5 separate regions of the Homo sapiens genome follow, and regions 2, 3, 4 and 5 are each linked to region 1. The links are contacts of gene promoters, found by promoter capture Hi-C in human tissues and cell types (Jung and others, 2019). All regions are on one chromosome and are shown on one strand. Each heading gives the region's core, a stretch centred on a gene start or on the middle of the fragment in contact. The rest is flanking DNA. Distances are from core to core; before and after follow the strand shown.

What was found. The method cuts DNA at HindIII sites, captures the fragments that hold promoters and counts their contacts. A contact is called where the count stands out against the background at its distance.
Region 2: a fragment that was not itself captured here is called in contact with the fragment with the promoter of SLC45A2 in region 1 in 1 of the 25 tissues and cell types used here (lymphoblastoid cells).
Region 3: a fragment that was not itself captured here is called in contact with the fragment with the promoter of SLC45A2 in region 1 in 1 of the 25 tissues and cell types used here (aorta).
Region 4: a contact is called between a fragment that was not itself captured here and the fragment with the promoter of SLC45A2 in region 1, in 1 of the 25 tissues and cell types used here (IMR-90 fibroblasts).
Region 5: a contact is called between a fragment that was not itself captured here and the fragment with the promoter of SLC45A2 in region 1, in 2 of the 25 tissues and cell types used here (IMR-90 fibroblasts and lymphoblastoid cells).

The regions. Positions count from the first base shown.
Region 1 is chr5:33,983,333-33,986,032 of GRCh38, forward strand. SLC45A2 (solute carrier family 45 member 2) reads right to left here and starts at 1,361. Exons shown (of 7, transcript NM_016180.5): 1 at 867-1,361. The coding sequence starts at 1,251. The HindIII fragment of the contact is 13,392 bases long and covers 1-2,700 here.
Region 2 is chr5:33,584,961-33,587,660 of GRCh38, forward strand. The region is part of intron 18 of ADAMTS12 (ADAM metallopeptidase with thrombospondin type 1 motif 12); the gene reads right to left. Among named protein-coding and RNA genes, the nearest start is that of TARS1, 150 kb to the left of the region's middle. The HindIII fragment of the contact is 4,295 bases long and covers 1-2,700 here.
Region 3 is chr5:33,482,886-33,485,585 of GRCh38, forward strand. No RefSeq gene overlaps it. Among named protein-coding and RNA genes, the nearest start is that of TARS1, 43 kb to the left of the region's middle. RefSeq lists an enhancer at 1-34. The HindIII fragment of the contact is 4,033 bases long and covers 1-2,700 here.
Region 4 is chr5:34,454,376-34,457,075 of GRCh38, forward strand. No RefSeq gene overlaps it. Among named protein-coding and RNA genes, the nearest start is that of RAI14-DT, 200 kb to the right of the region's middle. The HindIII fragment of the contact is 4,681 bases long and covers 1-2,700 here.
Region 5 is chr5:33,639,680-33,642,379 of GRCh38, forward strand. It overlaps ADAMTS12 (ADAM metallopeptidase with thrombospondin type 1 motif 12), which reads right to left. Exons shown (of 24, transcript NM_030955.4): 11 at 2,131-2,276. Among named protein-coding and RNA genes, the nearest start is that of TARS1, 200 kb to the left of the region's middle. The HindIII fragment of the contact is 4,544 bases long and covers 1-2,700 here.

The DNA.
Region 1 (2,700 bases), core at 111-2,610:
TTAAAAATTGCAGTATAAAATTAAATGAACAATAAGTCTACCCGCCACTTCTCACCTCCTGTCCTTCAGTAATCCTCCTTAGAGTCAACAATGCTTATCAGCTTTTTGTTCATTCTCCTGGAAATATCCTACATTTGTACATTTACGCTTTCTTTCAAATATGTACAAATGATAATTGATTATCCTGCCTCATAATCACCGATTCTGCTAGCTTGAGAGTTAATGATCTACAAATGTGTGCTATTTTTAGCGATCCTTTTTGCAATGCAACTTTATTGTACTACCATCAATTACTGATTAATTGGTAGCTGATTAATGGCTAGAAAAAATGCCTACCCTCAGGTTTGCTTTTGTCCAGAATTTGCAATGCCAGAAAGGTCCTCTTGAGCTGATGGGCTTATGCCCTACGCCTATTAAAACGCTCTACATAAAACTATGAACAGAATTAACTTATTTGGATACACAGGTGACTTATTGTAAATATTTATGGAGCTATTTGGCAGCCAGTCAATTTGATAAGAGTATTAAATAGAGCATAATGGGCTCAAAAAGTAACTCAATTGATAAATATGTAAAAATATTCAATTCGATAAAATAGATACAAATTTAATAAAATAGATACAAATTTAATCCTATTTTTAAATCTTCACAACAATGAAACATATTTATTTTGATATTTCTAGAAGTAGAGGCTCCCCAACCACAGAATCTGGGCCAAATTTGTCAAAGGGGAAGTTCATTGTAACCTAGGAGAGATCAATTCTAACAAATTTCTAGGAAAGGTCAAACACATGAACATCCTCCTCCTGCAGAGGTACACACTAAGACACATATCCCTGTCTGCCCACCTTGTGCAGCCCACTTACCTGCTACAACAGTAGCCCCATTGAGGTACAGAGCCATGCCCACGAGCATCATGACTCCCAGGGTGAGGATGTAGGGTCTCCGGCGGCCCCACCTGGACCGGCAGTGGTCGCTGGCCGATCCGACCACGGGCTGCAGCAGGAATCCCAGGATGGGGCTGAGGAACCACACAATGCTGTACAGGCTGCTGGGCAGACCTACGCTGAGCAGGACTGGGGTCACATACGCTGCCTCCACCGCGTAGCAGAACTCTCTTCCGAACATGGCCATGCTGTGCATGATGAGTCTGCTGGTGGGTCTTTTAGGCGGCTCCACAGAGTCAAAGGGGCCATCATCAGCTAGGGATTTATAGATGTGGCGGCCAGCCTGCCCACTGTTGCTACCCATGGCCACTGGGAGAGGAACCTTCCTGCGAGCCCACCACCTCCTGCGTGGTCCTAGGGTCTGTGTTTCAAACTGGATTTGACGTGGAGCCTGGCCGAGCAACCAACAGAGATGGTCAGGCTGGGGGAGGGGCTCAAATTCTTTCCTGCCTCTAAGATCACAAGTTATGATGAGAGGGAGGGGGTGGTGCTGGAAAGCATGACAGAGATTAGCAGCTGTGAATCAGCCCTCTGGCTCCATAAGACGTTGGAATACTTTTCTAAAGGGATCCTCCTTTGTACTGTTCCCTCTCTCTTTCTCTCTCTCTCACACACACACACAATTACACGTGATCACACACATGGCTTCTCTCCCTCTCACACACACGTTATTACACGTGATCACACACATGGGCTCTCTCAGACAGTATTACACATGATCACACACATGGTTTCTCTCTCACACACACATGCTATTACACATGATCACACACGTGGCTTCTCTCACACACACATTATTACACATGATCACACACATGGCTTCTCTCACACACACGCTATTAAACGTGATCACACCTGGCTTCTCACACACACATGCTATTACACATGATCACACACGGCTTCTCACACACATGCTATTACACATGATCACACACATGGCTTCTCTCACACACATTACACATGATCACACATGGTTTCTCACATACATGCTATTACACATGATCACACACGGCTTCTCTCATGCATGTTATTACACATGATCATACACATGGCTTCTCACACACATGCTATTACACATGATCACACATGGCTTCTCTCACACACATTACACATGGTCACACATGGCTTCTCTCACATGCGTTATTACACATGATCATACATGGCTTCTCTCTCACATGCTATTACACATGATCACACATGGCTTCTCATGCATTTTATTACACATGACCACACACATGGCTTCTCTCACACACGTTATTACACATGGTCACACATGGCTTCTCTCACGTTATTACACATGATCATACATGGCTTCTCTCACACATTATTACACATGACAGCTTCTCTCTCACACACTATTGCACATGATCACACATGGCTTCTCTCACACACACATGCTATTGCACATGATCACACATGGTTTCTCTCTCACACACGTTATTACACAACGATCACACACGGCTTCTCTCTCATACACATTATTACACATGACCACACACATGGCTTTTCTCTCACACACACTATTACACATGATCACACATGGGGCTTTTCTCGTTATTACACATGATCGGACTCATGGCTTCTCTCACACACACATGCTATTACACATGATTGCACACATAGCTTCTCTCTCACACACGTGTTATTACACATCACACACGGCTTCTCACACACGTTATTTTACACGATCACACACATGGCTTCTCTCACACACGTTATTTTACATGATCACACACATGGCTTCTCTCTCACA
Region 2 (2,700 bases), core at 78-2,577, 400 kb before region 1:
CCAGGACTCTTCCCACTTCCCTTTCTGCCAAGGATGCACTAGTCAAACATTTATTAAGTACATGGTGGTTATCCATGTATCCATCCATCCATCCATCCATCCATCCATCCATCCATCCATCCCTCCAAGGAAAAAGATGGCATAGGTTTTTACAAAGTATCTGACTAAACCATTGGAGCCATGATTAAAAATCTCATATAATTTTGGCAATTTATTTTAAAGCTCTCATTGGGGGTACCAGGGGTGTCTCTTGAAGAAGAGGTACCCTTCCATCTATCAAAAAGAAAGAATTATGGAACCCACTGGGCTGCCCTTATTGCCCTGGTTGTCTGGATGCACTGGGTTAAACTGAAAGCTTCATCAAAATAACCCTATTATTCTCATGTTTATCATGTTGCTCTCTGCTCCCACGTGTGGCTACAACTTCTAGTTCACCACTTCAATGTCTAGAGCCCTTTTATTGTAAACTGCCTGAAATGCCTTTGGAAAGGAAAACTGTATAAACAAACACACACATCCTGGCTTCTGGAGTGTCCTGTTTGCCACACATACACATTTGAACCCAGGAAGCCATGCTCTAGGGGCTGTGCCCTTCACTACTAGACTGGCTGCCTCTCACAAGGCATGTCCCTGAAATGGTGTATCTGGGAAGTAAGGGAGTCACAGTAACTTTGATACCTGGTCTCTGTTTACAATAGAGTTCCCTTCTTTACCCTTTAAGTCCACAAAGTAGGATGGGCAAAACCAGGATAAGATTCTTGGTAAAACCTGAGATTGGAGGTGAGAGTCAGGTATCTAGAACATAAGCTTAGAGAAAAGGGGCTGGTCACAGGGGGCAGGAAAGCCTGTCTGGGGCAGCAGGGGAGAGAGCTCCCCTTTCTGATCCCTGCTGGGACAGGGATGAGTGTACCAACCTGGCACGGCTGAGCCCACTCTCTCCTCACTGCTTGAGTTGGTGGAGTGCTTTGATAAGGAAAGGAGCTCATGAATGTACTTCCTCTTTCTTCTCACTTAGTTCAGCCCAGAGAAGGCCATTTTACAGGAGTCTAGAAGGCTGTCAGTTCTTGGGCCTTTTGGATAAGTAACTTTACAGTTTTAGACCATCCAGGGTGATGAAAATGACAAATGCAGATGAAAATGACACAGTGCAGACCAAATGATGGCTGGAGCACTATCCTGCTTCAAATGATGTTGGTCTCCAGACAAAATCTAGATAATAAATACTGCCTGCCAAGAATCACTATGTCACCTCTCTTTAAAAAAAGTATCTGGGCATAGTTAGAATGTCAAAGACATTTCATCATACTCCAGCAAAGTTCATTAGGAGGTTATTAGTAAGAGAGCAGATAGAAGAAAGGAAGACCCATTTGATGAATATTTTGATACTGATTTAACTAAAAGCACTTCCAATGACATCTTCTGAATGAGGGCATTGGCCCAGCCTTTCTGCTCAGCTCTGTCAAGTGGAAGCTAGAAACTGTCCATGTGTGGTCCATTGACTATGCAATGGCCTACATATGGAATCACAGACCCAAGTGCTTCTTACATCATGCCAACTTTTTGGTCTCTTGTTCTCCAGTTAAGACAGGTTACTACGCTTCCCATAAACGTGAACACATTAAGAAGAACTCCTCAGCCAAATCTGTAATTGCAGTCCTCTGAAAAAGCATTAAGATGTTGGCAATTAGTAAATTCTACATGACAAGAATTATTAACAGTTTTGGATGCGGCCAACACATTTTTGGTAAACAGATTTAATAGGCCAGTCACAATACTCCATTCAGCCTTATTTTGACAACACTGTAATTCACAGAAACCTAGGTTGCAGTGGACTAATAAGGCAGGCCAACCAAATGCCGTGATTATACTCTCCCAGGAATAGCAAAAAGAATGTATGGCTTATCACTGATGTGTGTACATACATCTGTGCATGAATCAGTAATACACCCATATTTGTATGTAGGTATATTTCTTTGCATGCATATCTTTATCCTTCCTTTCCTTTTTTCTTTTTCTTTTCTGGATCCCATCTCTCCCACTGGATGGAAGTTCTTACCATCTAGGGACCATATTTTCTGTTTCTTTTTTTTTTTTTAATTTCACCTAGATGCCCAAGAGAACATCCTGTACAGATTCAGAAGGTAAATAAACCTAAACTGTGACATAAGCTAATAAAAGGGAGTCTTGGAAATAAGGTTTCATCAAAGCTGCTGTATTTAAATGAGTGTTTTGCTTTCAAATAGGTATCTTCAGAGATGGTATCTTTGCTTACACAAATTTTAGAATTTTTCTTTCAGAGCAGGTGAAAAGCAATCTGTCACATATTTATCATCAAATATTTTTTAAACACAAAGATTTTGATCACATTATTCATTTATCCATCAGGCCCCATTCTAATTGACTTTCTGTGGCATTCTCCTGAATCAGATATTCTCCATTTTCTCCTGAGTCCTCACAGGAGTTCCTAAAATATCCTGAGCAATGGTGGCATTATTGTTATTATTATTATTTTGAGACAGGGTCTCACTTTCTCACCTAGGCTGGAGTACAGTGGCATGATATCAGCTCACTACAGCCTCGATCTCCCAGTCTCAAGCGATCCTCCTGCCTCAGCCACCCAAGTAGCTGGGACTACAGGCATGTGCCACCATGACTGGCTAATTGTATTTTTCATAGAGATGGTGTTTCATCATGTTGCTT
Region 3 (2,700 bases), core at 145-2,644, 500 kb before region 1:
ATCTCTAATTCAACCTAAGTTTATTCCCTTTTAGTGGGGTTCAATTTCTGTTAGCCAAAAGTGCTCAGTCCCTCAAACAGCTTATCTTTTGTTGTTTCTCTAAGATTGTGTAGAATTTGGAAAGGGTATAGCTTATTTGACCTTATGGCTTTGTGCGGAAGCCGGGGTCCCCAGTAGATCTCCTGGCTTCTGGATAATGTTTCTTTGCTGCTGGGTTGCTAGGTGCCTCATTGGCCTCCACTGCCAACTTCTGGGTGGTTATTACTTAGGGTTGTGACTATTGCTTGGGCAATGCACCTGCAGGTGCTTTCTGGGCAATTCCATTTCATCCGGCTCTTGATGGCAACATCAGCACCTTGGGGACACTCTGCGATATGTGTTTTGCTTCTGTTTTTTGTCCCGGATTTTCTGCAGGGTCCCCTGTCTCAATAAGGAAAACTCCTTCTATCAGTTTATCCAGGGTAGGCAGGCAGGTACTTCTAGGTCCGACGCAGTGTGCCTCAGTGGACCAGGATCATGGACACAGGACATGGGTAAGTTCCTGAACTCCTCTCTGCCTAAGGTTCTTCATCTATCAAATGAAAGTAGTAATAGTGAGTATTCACTGAACACTTCCTATTTGGCTGCACTTTTTAATGTGTTTCATATTATGATGTGCCAGGCAGAGCTCTGTAATAAGTCAGTGCTTCTCAAACTCTCTGTGGTAAATGATTACCTTTTTTCTTGAATTTCCAATTTGCCACAGATCAATATTTCTGCAAAGTACTTTAAAAGTTACTTCCTATGAGCTTTTACAGTGACAAATGAAAATTTTAAAAAAAACCTTAAAATTGAAATCACTGTACAAATTAGTTATTGGTTATAAATTACTACAAACACTTCAATAAATATTTAACAAATAAAAAAATAAAAAACTTAATTCCTAGAAAATGACATAAAAAAAAGAAAAACAACTACAAAACTTGTATTTGTTGTCCATTGAAAGTGGATGTGGATATAAAGTGTTTAACATAGAAAATTATACTAATAACTTCTACATATTATTTAACAATCATAACTTCTCAAAAAGTTGTGAGTGAAATAATGATTCCCCGCTTTAAGGGCCTTTATGTATATTTTGTTTTTTTGTTTTTGTTTTTTTGTTTTGAGACAGAGTCTCACTCTGTCGCCCAGGCTGGAGTACAGTGGCACAATCTCAGCTCACTGCAACCTCCGCCTCCTAGGTTCAAGCAATTCTCCTGCCTCAGCCTCCTGAGTAGCTGGGACTACAGGCATGTGCCAGCATGTCCAGCTAATTTTTTGTATTTTTAGTAGAGACAGGGTTTCACCATGTTGGCCAGCCTGGTCTCGAACTCCTGACCTCAAGTAATCCTCCCACCTCGGCTTCTCAAAATGCTGGAATTACAGGTGTGAGCCACGATGCCTAGCCCTTTATGTACACTTTGAATAAATGCTGTATATATCAACATTTAAAGATTTTAATACACCCAATGAACTTTTTTCTTGATTTATAAATTTATCGATCCAGTGAAGATTGGATTAGTTCATTTGTAAATGTTCTGTACTTTTATACCTATCTAGTTGCAGGCTAGTAGCAAGCAATTTTTGGACTGTGTAGGTTCAAAGAATATCCTTTGAATAGCACTATTTTACATGCTTTAGATGTATTAACTAATTTAACCCTCACAATAACTCTACAAGGACAGTATTATTATTATACTAGTGAAGTAACTAATAAGTGTTAAAATTTTGCACTCAGGTTTTGGGACTCCAAGGCCCCTGTTCATAGCATGTTGTAGAGGGAAAGAGGGAAAGAGGTAAGATCAGGTAGATTTCTTTCGTCTCCTAGAGACCCAGGGTGGAATGAACAAATGAACAGGAAGCTGTGAAAACTAGTCTGGGGCAAAAGAGATGAAGTAGATTAGGGCATGGGATAGAATTGAGGTGGGCTGTAGTGGTTTATGTCATTCAGGACTAATGGAAGTTACCAGCAAATTCAAAGAATCAGAAGTGGGGTCCCAGGCCTAGCTCAGGGGTTGAGAGGAGGCCTGAATTTACAAAGGTCGTTGTTGCTTAGAATTGATTATAGTCTTCAAATAGAACATAAGGAAAAGAATATATGAAAGAGTGCCATTTGTTCTGTAAAGACATTCTAACCAAATGGCTAGTATGGACAATTACTTGCAGCTAGCAGAACAAAGAAAGTAATTGATCAAATGCAATTGAAAGAGATCCTTGACCTAGCTCTCCAGCCTCCTGCATATGTCATTTAGAAGGGCGACTTGACTCTTAATAAGTCTTTATTTCTAGAAAGTTTTTTCTTTTAAGTAACATGTTTAATGGGAAGATAATAAAATATTTTCAATGCTATTTTATTCTCATGACTTAAATAAAAACTTCAGGACTTGGGAAATATCCCCCTTATGATAAAGCAGACAAAGAGGTAAATGTATGGATTTCCTGAATTGTCTCATCAAAAGCAGTGTGGGTTAAAAACAGGAGGTGTGGCTGGGCCCAGTGGCTCACTCCTGTAATTGCCAGCACTTTGGGAGGCCAAGGTGGGTGGATCACTTGAGGCCAGGAGTTCGAGACCAGCCTGGCCAACATGGCAAAACTCTGTCTCTACTAAAAATGCAAAAAAAAAATTAGCTGGGCGTGGTGGCGCGTGCCTGTAATCCCAGCTACTCAGGTGGCTGAGAC
Region 4 (2,700 bases), core at 183-2,682, 470 kb after region 1:
CCATGAATGGACATAGTTTCCAGGATTTTTTGTGACCCAGGAAACCCGAACTCTCATCAAAAATGAATAAATAAAAGGAGGGATGGGTAAGAAAATGCTAAAAATCTCCTTTTTGAATCATTAACATTCACTTGAAATTTGTCTCCACTATTTCCTACTACCCTAGCAAACTCCAACCTGAATAGCATGGGTGATGGCACTAAGCCCTATAATAGAAAAAGTGCCCTTAAGCTCTGTATTAGTCCGTTCTCTCACTGCTAATAAAGATACACCTGAGGCTGGCTAATTTATAAAGGAAAGAAGTTTAATTGACTCACAGTTCAGCATGGCTGGGGAGGCCTCAGGAAACTTACAATCATGGTGGAAGGGGAAGGGGAAGCAAGGCAACTTCACAGGGCGGCAGGAAGAAGTGCTGAGCAAAGGGGGAAAAGCACCTTATAAAACCATTAGATCTCATGAGAACTCACTCACTATCATGACGACAGCATGGAGATAGCCACCTCCATGATTCAATTACCTCCCACCGGGTCTTTCCCATGACACATGGGGATTATGGAAACTACAATTCAAGATGAGATTTGGGTGGGGACACTGTCGAACTATATCAAGCTCCATTCTGATTTGTGGTGAGTGTTGAGCCTGCTTAATAATATCCCATTTTTCTACAGCTTTTCTCATTCCCCAAATGGCTCTCAGCAATGTTTGCTCATTGAATATTAGCAAGTTCCCCAGACAGGAATTGGATTTAATATTATTATTCCCCATTCACAGTTGATGGGAGGGAGGTTCAGAGAGATTAAAGGCTCTAGTCAAACTTGGTAGACTGATGTGATAATAGAGGCATTTTTCTCTTCCCATTAAACAGTGCTGTCATTCTCAGTTTACAGATTAAGGCAAATCAGGGCAAAGCAATTTGTTCGAGAGTACTGAGTCAGAGTTCCGTCTTTGCTCCAGTGATTTAAGATGCCACCTCTATTATTCACTACATTTTCATATGCATTTGATTCTATTTCTGGACTTTCTATTCTATTTTATTGGTCTGTCTATGCACTATACCTCATTGTTTTTATTATAGAAGCTCGATTAGATGTCTTAATGTCTGGTAGAACCCTCTACCACCACTATCGTTATTATTTTTTCTTTTAGTATTCTCTGGCTATTCTTGCACATTTATTTTTCCACATAAACTTCAGTATTAACTTGCCAAGCTCTAAAACAAAAATCTGGCCAGGAACAGTGGCTCACGCCTGTAATCCCAGCACTTTGGGAGGCCAAGGCGGGCGAATCACTTGAGGTCAGGAGTTCGAGACCAGCCTGACATGGAGAAACCCTGTCTCTACTAAAAATACAAAATTAGCCAGGCACAGTGGCGCATGCCTGTAATCCCGGCTACTTGGGAGGCTGAGGCAGGAGAATCACTTGAAGCTGGGAGGTGGAGGTTGCAGTGAGCTGAGATCGTGCCATTGCACTCCAGCCTGGGCAACAAGAGTGAAACTCCATCTCAAAAACAAACAAACAAAGAAAAACCTTCTGTATTTTTATTGGGATTGAGATAACTTCATAATTTTATTTATAGAGAATTGTGAGAACCCTGAATATTTGAGACATGTCTCAGTTAATTTAGAAAGTTTATTTTGCCTAGTTTGAGGATGCACGTCTGTGACACAGTCTCAGGAAGTCCTGATGATATGTGCCCAAGGTGGTTGGAGCACAGCTTGGTTTTATACATCTTAGGGAGTCATGAGACATCAATCCATGTATGTAAGATATACATTGGTTCCACCCAGAAAGGTAGGACAACTCGAGTAGGAAGGGGGCTTCCAGGTTACAGGTAGGGGAGAGACAAATGGTTGCATTCTTTTGAGTTTCTGATTAGCCTTTCCAAACGAGGCAATCAGATATGACCTTATCTCAGTGAGCAGAGGGACAACTTTGAATAGAATGGGAGGCAGGTTTGCCCTGAACAGTTCCCAGCTTGATTTTTCCCTTTAGCTTAGGTATTTGAGGGCCCCAAAATTTATCTTCCTTTTGCATTTCCCCCCTTTTCTTTTTTAAAATCTTTTGGACAATATATGCTTTCACTTATTAGTGGGAGCTGAACAATGAGAACACATGCGCACAGGGAGGGGAACAACACACACTGGGGCCTGTCGGGGGAGAGTGGTGGTGGGGACAGTATTAGAGAAAATAGCTAATTCATACTGGGCTTAATACCTAGGTGATGGATTGATAGGTGCAGCAAACCACCATGGCACATGTTTACCTATGTGTCAAACCTGCACATCTTGCACGTGTACCCTGGAACATAAAAAAATACAATTAAAAATAAATAAATAAATATACTCTTTTGGAGAAAGCATTTTAGAAGAAAATGAGTCTCTGGTCTGAGGTTTCATCTGATCTCTCACAGCTAGGATGGTTTCTTCCTAGACTGGTAGGTCATGAGTTATTAGGAAAGCTCATTTTTAGTAGGTTGAGAAGTTTCATGTTCTGTGAAGAAAAAATAGGGGGAGGCTAGATGGCTGGCTGCAGTGGCTTACACCTGTAAGCCCAGCACTTTGGGAGGCTGAGGTACGTGGATCACCTGAGGTCAGGAGTTCAAGACCAGCCTGGCCAATATGGTGAAACCTCGTCTCTACTAGAAATACAAAAATTAGCCAGGAGCAGTGCATGGCATCTGTAATCCCAGCTACTTGGGAG
Region 5 (2,700 bases), core at 157-2,656, 340 kb before region 1:
CTCTTATCCACTATGTTACACTGCCTGACCACAAAATCCTGAGAGACAGAGAACTCAAATCCTGGCAGTCTAGTCAAGTACTGGTTGCAGCTGTAATTCTTGTTGATTCTGCTGTACTTTGTTCTCCTTGAATGCCCATGAGATTTTCTATACCTCCCCTCCCTCAATGTGGCCTGAGTAAGCTTCTGTTCCTCACTCATGAAAGAGTTTTGACCAAGGCAGTTCACATAGTAGGCTCTTAATTTGTTGATTCCCTTTAGGAGGTACCAAGAATTGTCCTTGTTATTTAAGGTGAGGCTGGTTTTCTATTTGTGCTGATGCAGGGACACTCTATGACCTGGTATGTCTCCAATTCATTTCCATCCAATCAATATCACTGACAGCCTCTTATGAGCCGAGCTCTGCTGGGTTCTCACTAGACAGTTGACCTACAGCAAGGATGCAGTCCCAAGATCAGCTGGCTCATGCACTGGCCTGAATCTGTGACTTGAACCACAGATCCAAATCTATGATGCGGTGCCATTGGCAGTGTTAGCAATGAATTTAAGCAAACCGGCAATGAAGAACAGGCATGTCCACTCACCCAAAGAGACTCTATGACAAACTGTGGCCTTGGAGATGAGAATTAGAACTACCTTTCTCCTGAAGCCAGGTTAGAGATTCATCCTTCACCTCCTCAACTAGGAGTTCCCTTCTCTGATAGCCACAAGTCACTGACCAACCTGCCAAGAACTTTCACACTGGTGGTGTCTGAATATACAGCATTGACAATAAGTCCCAGAGCAAATTGCCTTTCTTTTCTGATCTCTCAAATGAAAATGGAAATCACATTTCTGGATCAAATGGAAACAAACGATTAAATGACAATTTTCTCTAAAAACAAAATACTCTATGAGAAACTCTTGGTTTTGAATTTTGAAAGTCACAGAAACCCAGTACTTAAATAAAACAACTTTCATCAAAGGGTGAAATTTTAAAATAATTTTGTGAAGAATTTCCAAATGCATGCTTATAAATGTGGTAAATGATAAAGATTCATAATAACTACTATTTATTAACACTTTATTATGTAGTAGATACTGTGTTAAATTCCTTACACATACTAACTTATTAACCCTTAGAAAAAATATATAATATATATAGTGTATATATGTATATATGTAATGTATACATGCATATATATTCATATATACATATACTTATATTTAAATACTATACATCTAGGTAATACAGTTATTAACAAAAAGGATAAATAACCTTTGGAATTGAGATATTGAGAGATAAAATCACTTTTATTGCTCGCCTTTTAAAAAATGTGACTCCTACTTTTCAAAGTAGATGAATGTAAATTTAGATAAAAGAAACAATATAATTTCCACTTAAAGGAGATATCACATATACACTTTTAAGAAATTACTTGGGAGACAGTATATCAGAAAATAATGAAATTAAGAATGTAATGTGTATTTGGAAAACAAGCAAGTTTAAATTTACCTCATATATAATATTATCATACAAATAGAATATATGAAAAATTAAGCAATTTGCTTAAACAATTGAAAGTCACTTGTAAAATAACATTTGCAGAATCCTTAACAGGCCACTGCGGAACTTTAGGGTTTATAAAAATCCTTATCGAAAAATATTAAAAATAATTGTCCTCAAAAATGTACCTGTTTTACTAGTTGCTTAAGGAAAGAATTATTCTCATAAAATTGTGTATTCATTATCATTGAAAGCAAGCTACAATCTTATCAGCAAAATTGCGTTTCACTAATCTCTACTGATAAAATTGAGTTATTTAAAAAGATTTAATTGTATAATCTCCTAGAGGCTTTCACATAGATTGCACATTTAAAAGAAATTTGCTTTATTTCCCCAAATGATAAAATCAGCTTACTTATCCAAGTTTTAGTGAGAATCCAGTGCCAAGCCGAAATGAAACAACACAAAACAGAACCACTTTTTTTCCCCACTCTCTGTGAATCTTCTTGTTCTGTTTTGTCCTGGGAACCCATTTAATTTACCTGGAGGAGGCTTGGGGTCACTGAGGTCATGCCATTCAAGACTGCCCCCCATCCCGCCCCCAGCACATGTGGAGAGAAGGGAAATATATTTATCTGGACTCACTCGGGGTTGTTGCAGAGCCTCTCTGCGCTCTGGACTCCAGCCCCACAGGTCCTGGAACAGTGGGACCAGGGTGACCAGCGGCCCCAGCCTCCAGGAATGCTCTCTGGTTTCTTCCCCACTGTGATGCACTTGCCTGCCATACACCACTGGAAAGGGAAGAGGCAGGAGATGGCCGTATCAGGAAGGTTACCAGAGCAAGCTGAGCCAAGAGCCCTAAAAGTCTAAACCCAATTCTCTGCAAGCAAGCCGGCTTTCTACAGTCACATATCAGATGTAAAACAAACAGGGGCTCATATAAGTTTCTGCCAAGAGTCGTGGGTTTTAGAATCAGAGAGTTTCAAGAATGGAAGGAAACTTTACGTTGCCTAATCACACAGGTGCTACACAGTGTGGTTGGCAGATCGAGCACGAGAATGTAAATCAACATACTACTTTTTTCATTGAGAAAGTCTTGTTAGGAAAAGCATGTCAGCTTAGTATGCTTAGCAACATAGTTGCTTAGTAACATAGTTGATTTGCTTTCTGGTGCATGATCCTTATCTTGTTGCAAACCACAATAGTTCACAGACT